2 separate regions of the Homo sapiens genome follow, and region 1 is linked to region 2. The links are contacts of gene promoters, found by promoter capture Hi-C in blood cells and fetal thymus (Javierre and others, 2016). All regions are on one chromosome and are shown on one strand. Each heading gives the region's core, a stretch centred on a gene start or on the middle of the fragment in contact. The rest is flanking DNA. Distances are from core to core; before and after follow the strand shown. Region 1 overlaps CHST12 (carbohydrate sulfotransferase 12). Region 2 holds the start of AMZ1 (archaelysin family metallopeptidase 1).

Region 1 (6,445 bases), core at 2,825-5,324, 270 kb before region 2:
GTGGCCTGTGTGCTTTTTCTAAAGAGGGTTTTGGAAACTTCAGTATTTAAAGAGGAAAAAGTAGGCAGGAGGGGAAGAGGGGAAGAAAAGGAGGTGGAGTAGGCAATGAGGCCAGTGGTCACATTTTTGTGAGGCTTTTAGTACCATTCAGTGAATCTACATTTTACATGTGAAAAGAAGGGAGTGGGGCAGAGTCACATACGCCTTCTCCGCACAGTAAATCTGCATTTTACCTGCGATAAATAAGCACGTAAATTACTTTATCTGGGAAAGAAAAGAAGGCAGCTTTTCTTTTGCGTAACTTGGTTGTTAAGCTTAACTTTCCCTTTAGCTTGGTGAATTCGGGGTCCTGAGATTTTATTTTTCTTTTGCAATGTGTATACAAAGAGATTGATGATAAGAAATTGGCTCACACAATTACGGAGGCTGAGAAATTCAGACCCTGGAGAGCCAATGGTATGACTCCAGTCTGAGACGGAGTCCAAAGACGAAGACCAATGTCCCAGCTCAAAGACAGGCAGGCAGAGAGAGTTGATTCTCTTACTCTACCTTTTTTTTTTTTTTTTGAGGCAGAGTCTTGCTCTGTTGGCCAGGCTAGAGTGCAGTGGCGTGATCTCAGCTCACTGCAACCTCTGCTTCCTGGGTTCAAGCAATTCTCCTGCCTCAGCCTCCTGAGTAGCTGGGTTACAGGTGTGCGCCACCATGTCTGACTTTTTTTTTTTTTTTTTTTTGTGATGGAGTCTCACAGTGTTGCCCAGGCTGGAGTACAGTGGTGTGATCTTAGCTCACTGCAACCTCCGCCTCCCAGGTTCAAACTATTCTCCTGCCTCAACCTCCCATGTAGCTGGAATTACAGGCATGTGCCACCAGGCCTGACTAATTTTTGTATTTTTAGTAGAGACAGGGTTTTACCATGTTGGCCAGGCTAGTCTCGAACTCCTGACCTCAACTGATCCGCCTGCCTTGGCCTCCCAAAGTGCTGTGATTATAGGCATGAGCCACCACACCTGGCCTTACTCCACTTTTCTGTTGTACTTGGGCCTTCAGTGGACTGGCTGAGGCCCTCTCATACTGGGAGGGCATCCGATATCTCAGTTCACCCATTTGGATGTTACTCTCCTCCAGAAACATGCTCACAGACGCAGTCAGAGTATGCTTAACCAAATATCTGGGTACCCCACGGCCCAGTCCAGTTGACACATAAAATTAGCCACGTATTACGTGACCTTTTTGTGTGATCGATGTCAGTTCTGCTGTAACAATGTGGAAAATGCGCTTCTGGGGGGCTTAATATAGATCTGGCCATGTGGCAGTGTCTTCCAGAGCAGGATGGCTGTGGTCACGTCACGGTGACACACAGCTGAACACGAGTGAGCTAAGGCCATAGCTGTCTGTGCTAGCTGCCTTTTCTTTCTCTAGTGTTTTGCCCACAGTCAGCATGAGTATTTGGACCAGTGGCCTTGCGTGGGCAGCCGGCATGGACTTGCTCCCTGGGGCTGCAGAGTCTGCCCCTGGCTTCATGCCCTGCATGTTGTGTGTGAGCAAAGAAATATTTAACAGCCCCACCCGGAGCTAAGACACAACTCTGTCAGCCTAACCACAGTGTTTGCGTTTAAACCTAACCTAATAATTTTCAGTGCCATTTATGAGGGCATCTGACACAGCCGCCGTGGAAAAGCACCTCCACCGCTACAGTTTCCTGGCGGATGATGCTTCTAGGTGAAACTTTGCTCTGTGGGTTCCCTTGCTGGAGGCAGCAGCCCACGGTTGGTGTGCCGCAGGCGGGTTATACGTCTGTTCATCTGAGATGCCTCTGCGTGCTCTGCTTCAAATCACAGGGGGCTTTTTGTTGAAACACTGGGAGATTTGCATTTGGAAATCATGTCCTATTTCTTTTTAATGAAAAATTACTTTATGGCTTCAGTGTTGCCCATGATGTGTTTTGGAAGCAGGTGGGATCATGACCGCAGTGCTCAGCCCAGCGGTTCTATCGGACCCTTCCCTGAATGCTTCTCTCCTGCCCAGAAGGTAGCAAAAGTCACGTGGGCTTCAGGCCGGAGCTGTGTCAGTCACTGGGCCAGACATTCTTGTATGTCCAAGCTGTTGTTTCTGTTGCTGTTGTTGTTGTTTTGTTTTTTGGGATGTGGTCTCACCCTGTCACCCAGGCTGGAGTACAACGGCACAATCATAGCTTACTGCAGCCTTGACCTCCTGGGTTCAAGCCATTTTCCCACTTCAGCCTCCAGAGTAACTGGGACCACAGGTGTGTGCCATCATGCCCAGCTAATTTTAAAAATTATTTGTAGACATGAGGTCTCACTGTGTGGACCAGGCTGGTCTTGAACCCCTTGGCTCAAGCAATCCCCCTGCCTTGGCTTCCCAAATTGCTGGGATCACAGGCATGAACCACCATGTCTGGCTGTCCAAACCGCCTTTTAAAATTAAAACTTGGCTGGGCGTGGTGGCTCATGCCTGTATTCCCATCACTTTGGGAGGCCGAGGCAGGTAGATCACTTGAGCCCAGGAGTTCAAGACCATCCTGGTCAACATGGTGAAACCCCATCTCTACTAAAAATACAAAAATTAGCCAGGCGTGGTGGTGCACACCTGTAACCCAGCTACTCAGGAGGCTGAGGTGGGAGGATCACTTGAGTGGGGAGGTTGCAGTGAGCCAAGATCACGCCACTGCACTCAAGTCTGAATGATAGAGTGGAACCCTGTCTCCAAAAAAAAAAAAAAAAAAAAAATGGCTGGGCATAGTGGCTTACGCCTGTAATCCCAGCACTTTGAGAGGCCAAGGCAGGTGGATTCCCTGAGGTCAGGAGTCCGAGACCAGCCTGGCCAACATGGTGAAGCCCCGTCTCTACTAAAAATACAAAAATTAGCCAGGCATGGTGGTGGGAGCCTGTAATCCCAGCTACTTAGGAGGCTGAGGCAGGAGAATCGCTTGAACCCGGGAAGCAGAGGTTGCAGTGAGCTGAGATTGTGCAACTGCACTCAAGCCTAGGCAACAAGAGCAAAACTCCGTCTCAAAAAAAAAAAAAAAAAATTACCATTGTAACCATTTTTAAGCATGCAGTTTGGTGGTGTTAAGCACGTTCACATCACTCTGCAGCAATCACCACCCTCCAGCCCCAGAACTATGTTCATCTTGTAAAACTAAAGCTCTGTCCCCATTGAACACAAACTCCCATCCCCCTCCCCTGCCCCCACAACCACCATTCTACTTTCTGTCTCTAGGAATTTAACTGCCCTGGGAACCTCATACAAGTAGAATCTTGAAATATTTGTCTTTTTTTTTTTTTTTTTTTTTTTGAGATGGAGTCTCGCTCTGTTGCCCAGGCTGGAGTGCAGTGGCACGATCTCACCTCACTGTAAGCTCTGCCTCCCGGGTTCATGCCATTCTCCTGCCTCAGCCTCCAGAGTAGCTGAGACTACAGGCGCCCGTCAGCATGCCCGGCTAATTTTTTGTATTTTTAGTAGAGACGGGGTTTCACCGTGTTAGCCAGGATGGTCTTGATCTCCTGACCTCGTGATCTGCCCGCCTCGGCTTCCCAAAGTGCTGGGATTACAGGTGTGAGCCGCCACACCGGCCAAGTATTTGTCCTTTTGTTTCTGGCTTATTTCACTGAGCATAATGTCTTCAGGGTTCATCCATGTTGTAGCATGTGTCAGAATTTCCTTTCTTTTGAAGGCTGAGTAATATTCTACTACATGGGTTGACCACAGTTTGCTTGTCTGTTCATCTGTCGCGAACACTTGGGTTCCTTCCACCTTTTGGCTATTGTGAATGATGCTGACATCAGTGTGGACATGGGTGTGCAAGCATCTCTTCAAGACCCTGCTCTAAGTTGAGTGCAGTGGCTCATGCCTGTCATCCCAGCACTTTGGGGGGCCAAGGTGGAAGGATCACTTGAGGCCAGGAATTCAAGACCACCCTGACAACATAGCAAGATGCCATCTCTACAAAAAATTAGCTGGGCATGGTGGCAACCACCTATAGTCTCAGCTACTCAGGAGGCTGCTTGAGCCCAGGAGTTCAAGGCTGCAGTGAGGTTTGATGGCACCACTGCACCCCAGCCTGGACAACACAGTGAGACCCTGTCTCAGGAAAAGAACAACAACCTTGCTTTCAGTTATTTTGGGTGTATACACAGAAGTGGAATTGCTGTATCATATGGCAATTTTATTTTATTATTATTTTTTAAGACGGAGTCTCACTGTGTCACCAAGTCTGGAATACAGTGGTACAATCTCAGCTCACTGCAACCTCTGCCTCCTGGGTTCAAGCAATTCTGCCTCAGCCTCCTTGAGTAGCTGGGATTACAGGCGTGAGTCACTGCACCTGGCCCCTCATATGGTAATTTTATATGATAATTCTGTGTTAATTTTTTTTTTTGAGACAGAGTCTCACTCTGTTCCCCAGGCTGGAGTGCAGTGGTGCCATCACAGCTCACTGCAACCTCCATCTCCTGGGCTCAAGCGATCCTCTTGCCTCAGCCTCCTGAGTAGCTGGGACTGTAAGTGCACACCACCATGTCCTGCTAATTCTTTTTTTTTTTTTTTTTTTTTTTACATTTTTTTTGTAGAGAAGGGTCTTGGTATGTTGCCCAGGCTGGGATGCAGTGGCAACATCATAGCTCACTGCAGCCTCAAACTCTTGGGCTCAAGCAATCCTCTCACCTCAGCCTCCTAAGTAGCTGAGACTACAGGCACACACTACCATGCCTGGCTAGTTTTTTAGTTTGGTTTTTTTTTTTACTTTTTTTTTTTTTTTTGAGACGGAGTCTCGCTCTGTTGCCCAGGCTAGAGTGCGGTGACGCGATCTTGGCTCACTGCAACTTCCACCTGCCAGGTTCAAATGGTCCTTCCATCTCAGCCTCTCAAGAAACTGGGATTACAAGTGTACACCACCATGCCAGGCTAATTTTTTTATTTTTAGTAGAGACAGGGTTTTGCCATGTTGGCCAGGCTGTCCTCAAACTCCTGAGCTCAAGTGATCTGCCCACCTCAGCCTCCCAAAGTGCCAGGATTACAGGCATGAGCTACTGCGCCCAGCCTTTTTAAACATTTTTTATAGAGATAGGGTCTTGCTATGTTGCCCAGGCTGGTCTTAAACTCCTGGGCAGTTCTCCCGCCTCAGCCTCCCAAAGTGCTGGGATTACAGGCATGAGCCACCATAGCTGGCCCTAAAAGATATTATTAATACTTAGTTATAATCCTAAAATATTTTCCTTGTAATTAAACTGAAATCTTATTAAATTATCCATGAAAAGTCATAGGTTTTATAAAATGATGTAGTCACTGGCATTGGTTGTATATATGTAATGCTTCTTGGCTGAAAAATAAGCAGAAGTGCTTAGGTTGGCTCAGTAACGCCCTTATCTAGTTCTTAGGTACAGAATTCGTGGACGGCGGCAGCATCCCTGGCCTCTGGCGTCTGCCTATGTCGGCGATGTGACTGACTCCCCTGCAGCTTCACTCTCCTCGTTAGTCTTCATCTTAATTGGCAACTTCCCTCTCAAGTTGTTTGTCATGTTAACTTTTCCCCTTTGCTACTTTCTTTTTCTTTCTTTTTTTTTTTTGAGAGGGAGTTTCCCTCTTGTGGCCCAGGCTGGAGTGCAGTGGCGCCATCTCGGCTCACTGCAACCTCCGCCTCCCAGGTTCAAGCGATTCTCCTGCCTCAGCCTCCCGAGTAGCTGGGATTACAGGCATGTGCCACCATGCCCGGCTTATTTTGTATTTTTAGTAGAGACAGGGTTTCTCCGTTATTGGTCAGGCTGGTCTCGAACTCCTGACCTCAGGTGATCCACCCGCCTCGGCCTCCCAAGGTTCTGGGATTACAGGCGTGAGCCACTGCGCCCTGCCTCTTTTTTTTTAGATGGAGTCTTGTTCCGTCACCAGGCTGGAGTGCAGTGGTGCGATCTCAGCTCACTGCAAACTGCGACTCCCGGGTTCAAGCGATTCTCCTGCCTCAGCCTCCCCAGTAGCTGGGACTACAGGCACACACCACCACACCCAGCTAATTTTTGTATTTTTAGTAGAGACAGGGTTTCACCGTGTTGGCCAGACTGGTCTCGATCTCTTGACTTTGTGATCCACCTGCCTCGGCTTCCCAAAGTGCTGGGATTACAGGAGAGAGCCACTGCGTGCAGCCCTGCTTTGCTGCTTTCTTAGCCTTCAGAAAACCTTTTTTTTTTTTTTTTTAGTGTGGTTTCATTCACTGTCATCTGAAGAAACTGTTGATTGTTACACATCCTCGAGAGGGGTGGTCCTGAAAACTTGAACAGCACAGGTACTTAGGATCTAGTTTTAAAAATAGGCTGCAGTGGCTCACGCCTGTCATTCCAGCACTTTGGGAGGCTGAGGCACTTGGATCACTCGAGGCCAGGAGTTAGAGACCAGCCTGGCCAACATGGAGAAAGCCCCTCTCTACTAAAAATCC
Region 2 (6,779 bases), core at 4,198-6,697:
TCCCCAGATGCGGCCTCATCTCTTCTCCAGCTTTTCTGACCCTGCCCCACTTCCTGCACCCATCTTTGCCCAGATCCCTGCAGGCATTCTGTACAGGGAGGCCTGTGCTCGCACGGTTCCTTCCACCTGGCACACCCCCATCTCTGCCGTTGACCCGGGCTCATCTTGCTGTGCGGTGAAGCCAGCCTCAGAGCCGTCCTCCTCTGTCCCCACAGCACTGTCTGCCTGCACCCTCGCCTGCTGGCCTTGGAGCAGGGCTGAGCTGCAGAGAGGCCAAGCCCCTGTTCTGTGGCTCGAGTTTGCTGGGTGAGCAGCTGCTGCTTCCCAGGACTCCTTGTGCCAATGCCCCGGGAGAGTTTTCCTCTTCCTTATAAAACCCGTGTGAAGCATTTTCCTGTTTTCCAATGTGGATGAGTTTCCTGCGGCTGCCGTGACAAATGACCACAGCTGTGCGGCTTCAAACAGCACACATTCACTGTCAATTCTGGAGGGCAGTGGTCTGAAGTCAAGGCTGGGGCAGGGCCGAACTTCTGCAGAGGGCTCCAGGGGAAGGTCCTTCCTGCCTCTTCCTGCTTCTGGGGGCTCCAGGTGTCCTTGGCTTGTGGCTGCACCACTCCCATCTCCGTCTTCTCCTCTGTGTCTCTGTGTCTTCAACTTTCTGTTTTTTTGTTTGTTTGTTTGTTTTTGTTTTTGTTTTTTTTGAGACAGAGTCTGGCTCTGTCACCCAGGCTGGAGTGCAGTGGCACGATCTCGGCTCACTGCAAGCTCCGCCTCCCAGGTTCACACCATTCTCCTGCCTCAGACTCCCGAGTAGCTGGGACTACAGGTGCCTGCCACCACGCCTGGCTAATTTTTTTATATTTTTAATAGAGACGGGGTTTCACCGTGTTAGCCAGGATGGTCTCGATCTCCTGACCTCGTGATCCGCCTGCCTTGGCCTCCCAAAGTGCTGGGATTAGAGACGCGAGCCACCGCGCCCAGCTCTGTCTGTTTTTTACAATATTTTGTAGAGATGCTGCCCAGGCTGGTCTCCAACTCCTGGGCTCAAGTGATCCTCCCACCTCGGCTTCCCAAAGTGTTGGAGATTACAGGCGTGAGCCACCTCACCCAGCCTCTTTCTCTCTCTTTTTAAAAAATTGTTGGCTGGGTGTAGTGGCTCATGCCTATAATCCCAGCACTTTGGGAGGCCGAGGCGGGTGGATCACTTGAGGTCAGGAGTTTAAGACCAGCCTGGCCAACACAGTGAAACCCCATCTCTACTAAAAATACAAAAATTAGCTGGGCTTGGTGGCACGCGCCTATAATCCCAGCTACTCAGGAGGCTGAAGCAGGAGAATCGCTTGAACCTGGGAGGCAGAGGTTGCAGTGAGCCAAGATCACGCCACTGCACTCCAGCCCGGGTGACAGAGCGAGACTCCATCTCAAAAAAAAAAATTGTCATTATTTTTTACATTGTCTTGTTCCTCCAATGAGGAACCTCTTTCTGTCTCTTACAAAGTCACTTGCATTGGATTTAGGGCCCACCCTGACTCTGACCCAGGATGACCTCATCTTGAGATCCTTACTTTAACCATATCTGCAACGACTCGGTTTCCAAATAAGGTCCCATTCTGATGGTGCAAGTAGGCACATTTTTGGGAGCCGCTATGTAACCCACCCTGGGGAAACTGAGGCAGGGCAAGGTGAAGCAGCTTCCCCAGGCCACACAGTTCTCTTTTAACCCCAAGTCGGCCTGGGTCAGAGGATGGTGATGGGGTCAAAGTTGGGGGCGGCCCCCTTTGTTCATCACTGAAAGGACAGGGGTCCCCATATCACGGCCTCTTTCTAGAATAGACTCTGACGAGGTAGCTTCAACCAGAAAGGGGTGTGCAGTCTGCCGGTGGGAGACCAGCGTGTCCCGGGTGCAGTGTGGACAGGGCGTTGGCTGAGTGAAGCCTTGGCTGGCAGGGGCCAGGTCATCAGCAGGCTGCCTCTGTGTTTCGGGGGTCCTGGCACTGGGCATGGCGCCACCCAACTTGGGGCACCCAGGAGGGGCCCTACTCATCTGGGCTTCCAGTCTCCCGGGCTGACCCAACAGACAGAGGAGGAACTGCCACTCTGGGCTTGACACATAATTGCTTTTTTTTTTTTTTTTTTTGAGACGGAGTCTCTGTCGCCCAGGCTGGAGTGCAGTGGCGCGATCTCAGCTCACTGCAAGCTCCGCCTCCCAGGTTCACGCCATTCTCCTGCCTCAGCCTCCTGAGTAGCTGGGACTACAGGCGCCCGCCACCACGCCCGGCTAATTTTTTGTATCTTTAGTAAAGATGGAGTTTCACTGTGTTAGCCAGGATGGTCTTGATCTTCTGACCTCGTGATCCGCCCGCCTCGGCCTCCCAAAGTGCTGGGATTACAGGTTGAGCCGCCGCGCCCGGCCTCGATGCATAATTTCCTTTCCGGTGGCTATTCAGGGAGGGGCGTGGGGGTTGGGGGGAGGATATTCCACAACTTCTTTGTAATAAGCAGCTTTAGGACAGAACATTCAGGCCAGGCTCGGTGGCTCACGCCTGTAATCCCAGCAATTTGGGAGGCCAAGGCGGGTGGATCACTTGAAGTCAGGAGTTCGAGACCAGCCTGGCCAACAGGGTGAAGCCCTGTCCTTCCTAAAAATACAAAAATTAGCCGGGCGAGGTGACGGGCACCTGTAATCGCAGCTACTTGGGTGGCTGAGGCAGGAGAATCGCTTGAACCCAGGAAGTGGAGTTTGCAGTGAGCCGAGATCGCGCCACTTGTACTCCAGCTCTGGGCAACAGAGTGAGACTCCGTCTCAAAAAAAAAAAAAGGCCGGGTGCGGTGGCTCATGCCTGTAATCCCAGCACTTTGGGAGGCCGTGGCAGGCGGATCACGAGGTCAGGAGATCGAGACCATCCTGGCCAACATGGTGAAACCCCATCTCTACTAAAAACACAAAAATTAGCTAGGCATGATGGCAGGCGCCTGTAGTCCCAGCTACTTAGGAGGCTGAGGCAGGAGAATGGTGTGAACCCGGGAGGTGGAGCTTGCAGTGAGCCGAGATCACGCCACTGCACTCCAGCCTGAGTGACAGAGCGAGACTCCGTCTCAAGAAAAAAAAAAAAAAAAAAAAAAGAACATTCATCTTTTCTCAGGTTCTGGGTTCTCCATCCCCAACAGAAATAACCTGGAAAATCCCTGCGGCAACACGTGTGAAGAAGTGCAGCTTTCTGAGTCACAATCTATTTGTAGGAATTTATCCCAAGGTGAGGGGGACCAGATACCTGTACAAAGATCTGTGGAAACAAGATCGTCTATCACAGTGATATATGCTAGTGAGACACCAGGAGAAACCAAAATATCCCAAAGCAGGTGACAGATCCATGACACGGAGTCCAGCGCAGACCATCAGGGTGTGGAGACGGACTTTTGGCTATTGATGAGTGTGAAGTCACGGGCCGCCTGCAGAACGCAGTATGTGACGTGAATCCCTTAAAATATGTATTTAGGCTGGGCACGGTGGCTCATACCTGTGATCTCAACATTTTGGGAGGCCGAGCTGGGAGGGTTGTTTGAGCCCAGGAGTTTGAGACCAGCTTGAGCAACATAGCGAGATCCCATCTCTACATAAAAGTTTCAAAATTAGCCAGGTGTGATGGCACGTACCTGTAGTCTCAGCTACTCAGGAGGCTGAGGGAGGAGGATTGCTGGAGTCTAGGAGGTCGAGGCTACAGTGACTCGCGTTTATACCAGTGCATTCTAGCTTGGGCAATAGAGCAAGATCCTGTCTCAAAAAAAACTTTTTAAAAATACATTTCAATGTGGAGGAGAAGGCGATCAGAAGGATGTCTGACAAGAAGGTGAGAGAGGTTACCTCTACACAGTTGGCTTATGGGGTCTTCTTTTTGTTTTTATTTTTCATAATTTTCCAAATTTTGCACACCGGACACCTAGTGTTGTGTTGTTTTTCTCTCTCTCTCTTTTTTTTTTGAAACAAAGTCTTGCTTTGTCACCCAGGCTGGAGTGCAGTGGCATAATCTCGGCTCACTGCAACCTCCGCCTCCCGGGTTCAAGTGATTCTCCTGCTTCAGCCTCCCGAGTAGCTGGGACTATAGGCACCAGCCACCACGCCCAGCTAATTTTTTTATTTTTAATAGAGACGGGGTTTGACCATACTGGCCAGGCCGGTCTTGAACTCCTGACCTTGTGATCTGTCTGCCTCAGCCTCCCAAAGTGCTGGGATTACAGGCATGAGCCACCACGCCCAGCCGTGTTATTTCTTAAGGCTTAAAAAAATTCTTTGAGGCTGGGTGTGGTGGCTCACGCCTGTACTCCCAGCACTTTGAGAGGCTGAGGCGGGTGTATCATGAGGTCAAGAGTTTGATACCAGCCTGGCCAAGAAGGTGAAACCCCATCTCTATTAAAAATACAAAAATTAGCTGGACACAATGATGGGTACCTATAATCCCCACTACTCAGGCGGCTGAGGCAGAAGAATGACTTGAACCCCGGAGGTGGAGGTTGCAGTGAGCCCAGATTGCACCATTACACTCCAGCCTGGGCGACAGAGCGAGACTCCATCTAAAAAAAAAAAAAAATTCTTTGCACTGGTGTGGGACGATGGTGACGAATCCCTCAGCCATCTGTGGGGCGCTGCTGAGGGCGTGGGGGGCATTTCTGCACGGTGAAGCAGAGCTGGTGGGAGGCTGCCCGAGGGAAGCTGGTGCTGGGAGGGTTTGCAGAGAGGAAAAGGGCAGTTTATGGAAAAGGCCTCTGGGCTCTGTCTGGAGCCGTCATGCCGGCCTTCACGGCATCCTTCCGCACTTAGAGTCCTTTCCATCTCCTGGTGGCTGGCACAGGGCCAGGGCTGCACTCACAGCTGGCCAGGGTAGGGCAGGGCGCCCGTCCTCAGGGCCACTGACTGTAGGGCTAACCTAGGGGCCTGGTTCACCCCTCTCACCTGGGGCTTCGCTGATAAGCCTGGTTCACCTCCTCACCTGGTGGCCTCGTTCACCCCCTCACCTGGCGCCTTGCCTGATAGCCTGGTTCACCCCTCTCACCTGGGGCCTCTCCTGGTGGCCTGGTTCCCCTTCCTCACCTCGTGGCGCTGGTTCACCCCTCTCACCTGGGGCCTTAACTGGTGGCCTGGTTCACCTCTTCACCTGGCGCCTTGCAGAGTAGCCGGGTTTACTCCTCTCACCTGGGGAGGCACGAACTGGCCCGGGCTGACTGACCTCCCTCACCTGTTTGGCTTTAGGCTCTGGGGCCCCCCTGCCCGGGTGTTTCTGGGAGGCTGGAGGGTCCCACGTGAGCTCCACCGCGGGCAGCTGGAGGGAGTGGGGCAGGACGCTGAGCGCCGGGAGGGGTGTGGCCCTCCTGTCCTGCCCGCGGCCCCACACCGGCCCCAGTCCCGCCCGCCTCGGTCCCTGCCCCGCGCGCCGACGTCACCGGGACCTCCCGATCCTCCCGGCCCAGGCCGAGCTGCCCACGCTGCTGCCCGGGGCTCGGTGCCCGGCGCGGCCTCTGCCGGCTCCGGCGGGCGCGGGACTGCGAGGTAGGGGGGCGCGCGGGGAAGACTCGGGGGCGCAGGGACCGAGAGGGACCTCCGTGCCGGGGCGGGTGGGTAGGGGCAGCTCCGGGTCCAGCCCGGCCCGCGCACCAAGTCCCGAGGGCGCCCGGGCGGCGGCGGCTACGGGCGCGCGGGGACCGCGGAGACGCGAAGGGCGCACTTGGCGAGGGTTTGGTGCAGCGCCGCGCCGGGGTCCGCACAGCCCCGGCAGGTCCTGCAGAGGGAAGGCCGGGCCAGGGAAGGGCCACGCGCCCCCTCCCCGCCATCCTCTCCCAGGCCAGGGCGACCTGCGCGCTTCCCGATGGGAGCAAACTGGGGACGGGTCGGGAATCCAGGGCCAAGCGCCCGAAAGAAGGCGTTTCCGGGCTGGGGCGAGCCAGGTGGGTGCGGGACGTCCCCGGGGAACCTCCAGGGCGCCGAGAATCTCGTCGTGCCCAGGGCTCCCCGCAGCCTGTGTATGAGCCGGGGAGGGAGAAGGCTTCCTCCCCCAGGAGACTGAGGGAGAAGGCTGTGGATATGATCCCTGCAGGGATGTAAGACAGGTCTCAAAACCAGAAAAGCAAGGGAGGGGTGACAGAGAAATGGCAAACTTTACAAAGGACAGGGGAGGGCAGGGACCTGGGTCCTTTCTGCCCCCATCACGGGAGGGAAACACTTGGCAGAGGAGTTTGGGGTTCGCAGGTGAGGAGAGAGAACAGGAAGCCAAGAGTCTGGCCCGGAGGCCACTACCCCTGCGGTCTAAGCCCCCGGTTTTCCCTCCTAGCGAATGGAAACTGAGAGGTGAGAAACCCCCAAAACCATCCGTCCGTCTGGTTCTGCCTGAAGGTCTCCGCTGTCAGCTAATGAATAGCTCGATGCAGCTGCTGGGAGGTTTTGCAAAGCGCATTCAGAATAGCGAGAATCAGAGCATGGTTTCTTGCCCAAAGGCCAGGCATCTGCGTGGTCAGATGGGGGAGCATGAGTGCCCGGAGCTGTGCGGTTTAGGGCAGCCTGACCTTGGATACCTGGTTACTGGGCCAGTCTGGCGGCCCTTGTTGCTTAGAGCGGCAGAACCTCCCTGGGGGGGGGATGCGGACGTGCTCTTTTCCAGTCTTTGGACAAAAAAAGGCAAGGGGAGGAGGAAGGAGAAGCGTCTGAGTTTACCCATGGTATTAATAGCAGCAGGGCTGGAACTCGGGTGCTCTGGGAGAGGAGACGTCCTACCCCCTGTCCCCGTCAGAAC

Evidence for each region. The method cuts DNA at HindIII sites, captures the fragments that hold promoters and counts their contacts. A CHiCAGO score of 5 or more calls a contact.
Region 1: a contact is called between a fragment that was not itself captured here and the fragment with the promoter of AMZ1 in region 2, in 3 of 17 cell types (neutrophils, M1 macrophages and monocytes). The highest score is 8.2, in neutrophils.

The regions. Positions count from the first base shown.
Region 1 is chr7:2,416,677-2,423,121 of GRCh38, forward strand. All of the region lies in intron 1 of CHST12 (carbohydrate sulfotransferase 12), which reads left to right. Among named protein-coding and RNA genes, the nearest start is that of CHST12, 16 kb to the left of the region's middle. The HindIII fragment of the contact is 7,524 bases long and covers 313-6,445 here.
Region 2 is chr7:2,682,755-2,689,533 of GRCh38, forward strand. AMZ1 (archaelysin family metallopeptidase 1) reads left to right here and starts at 5,448. Exons shown (of 7, transcript NM_001384743.1): 1 at 5,448-5,542. RefSeq lists an enhancer at 6,147-6,416. The HindIII fragment of the contact is 47,840 bases long and covers 1-6,779 here.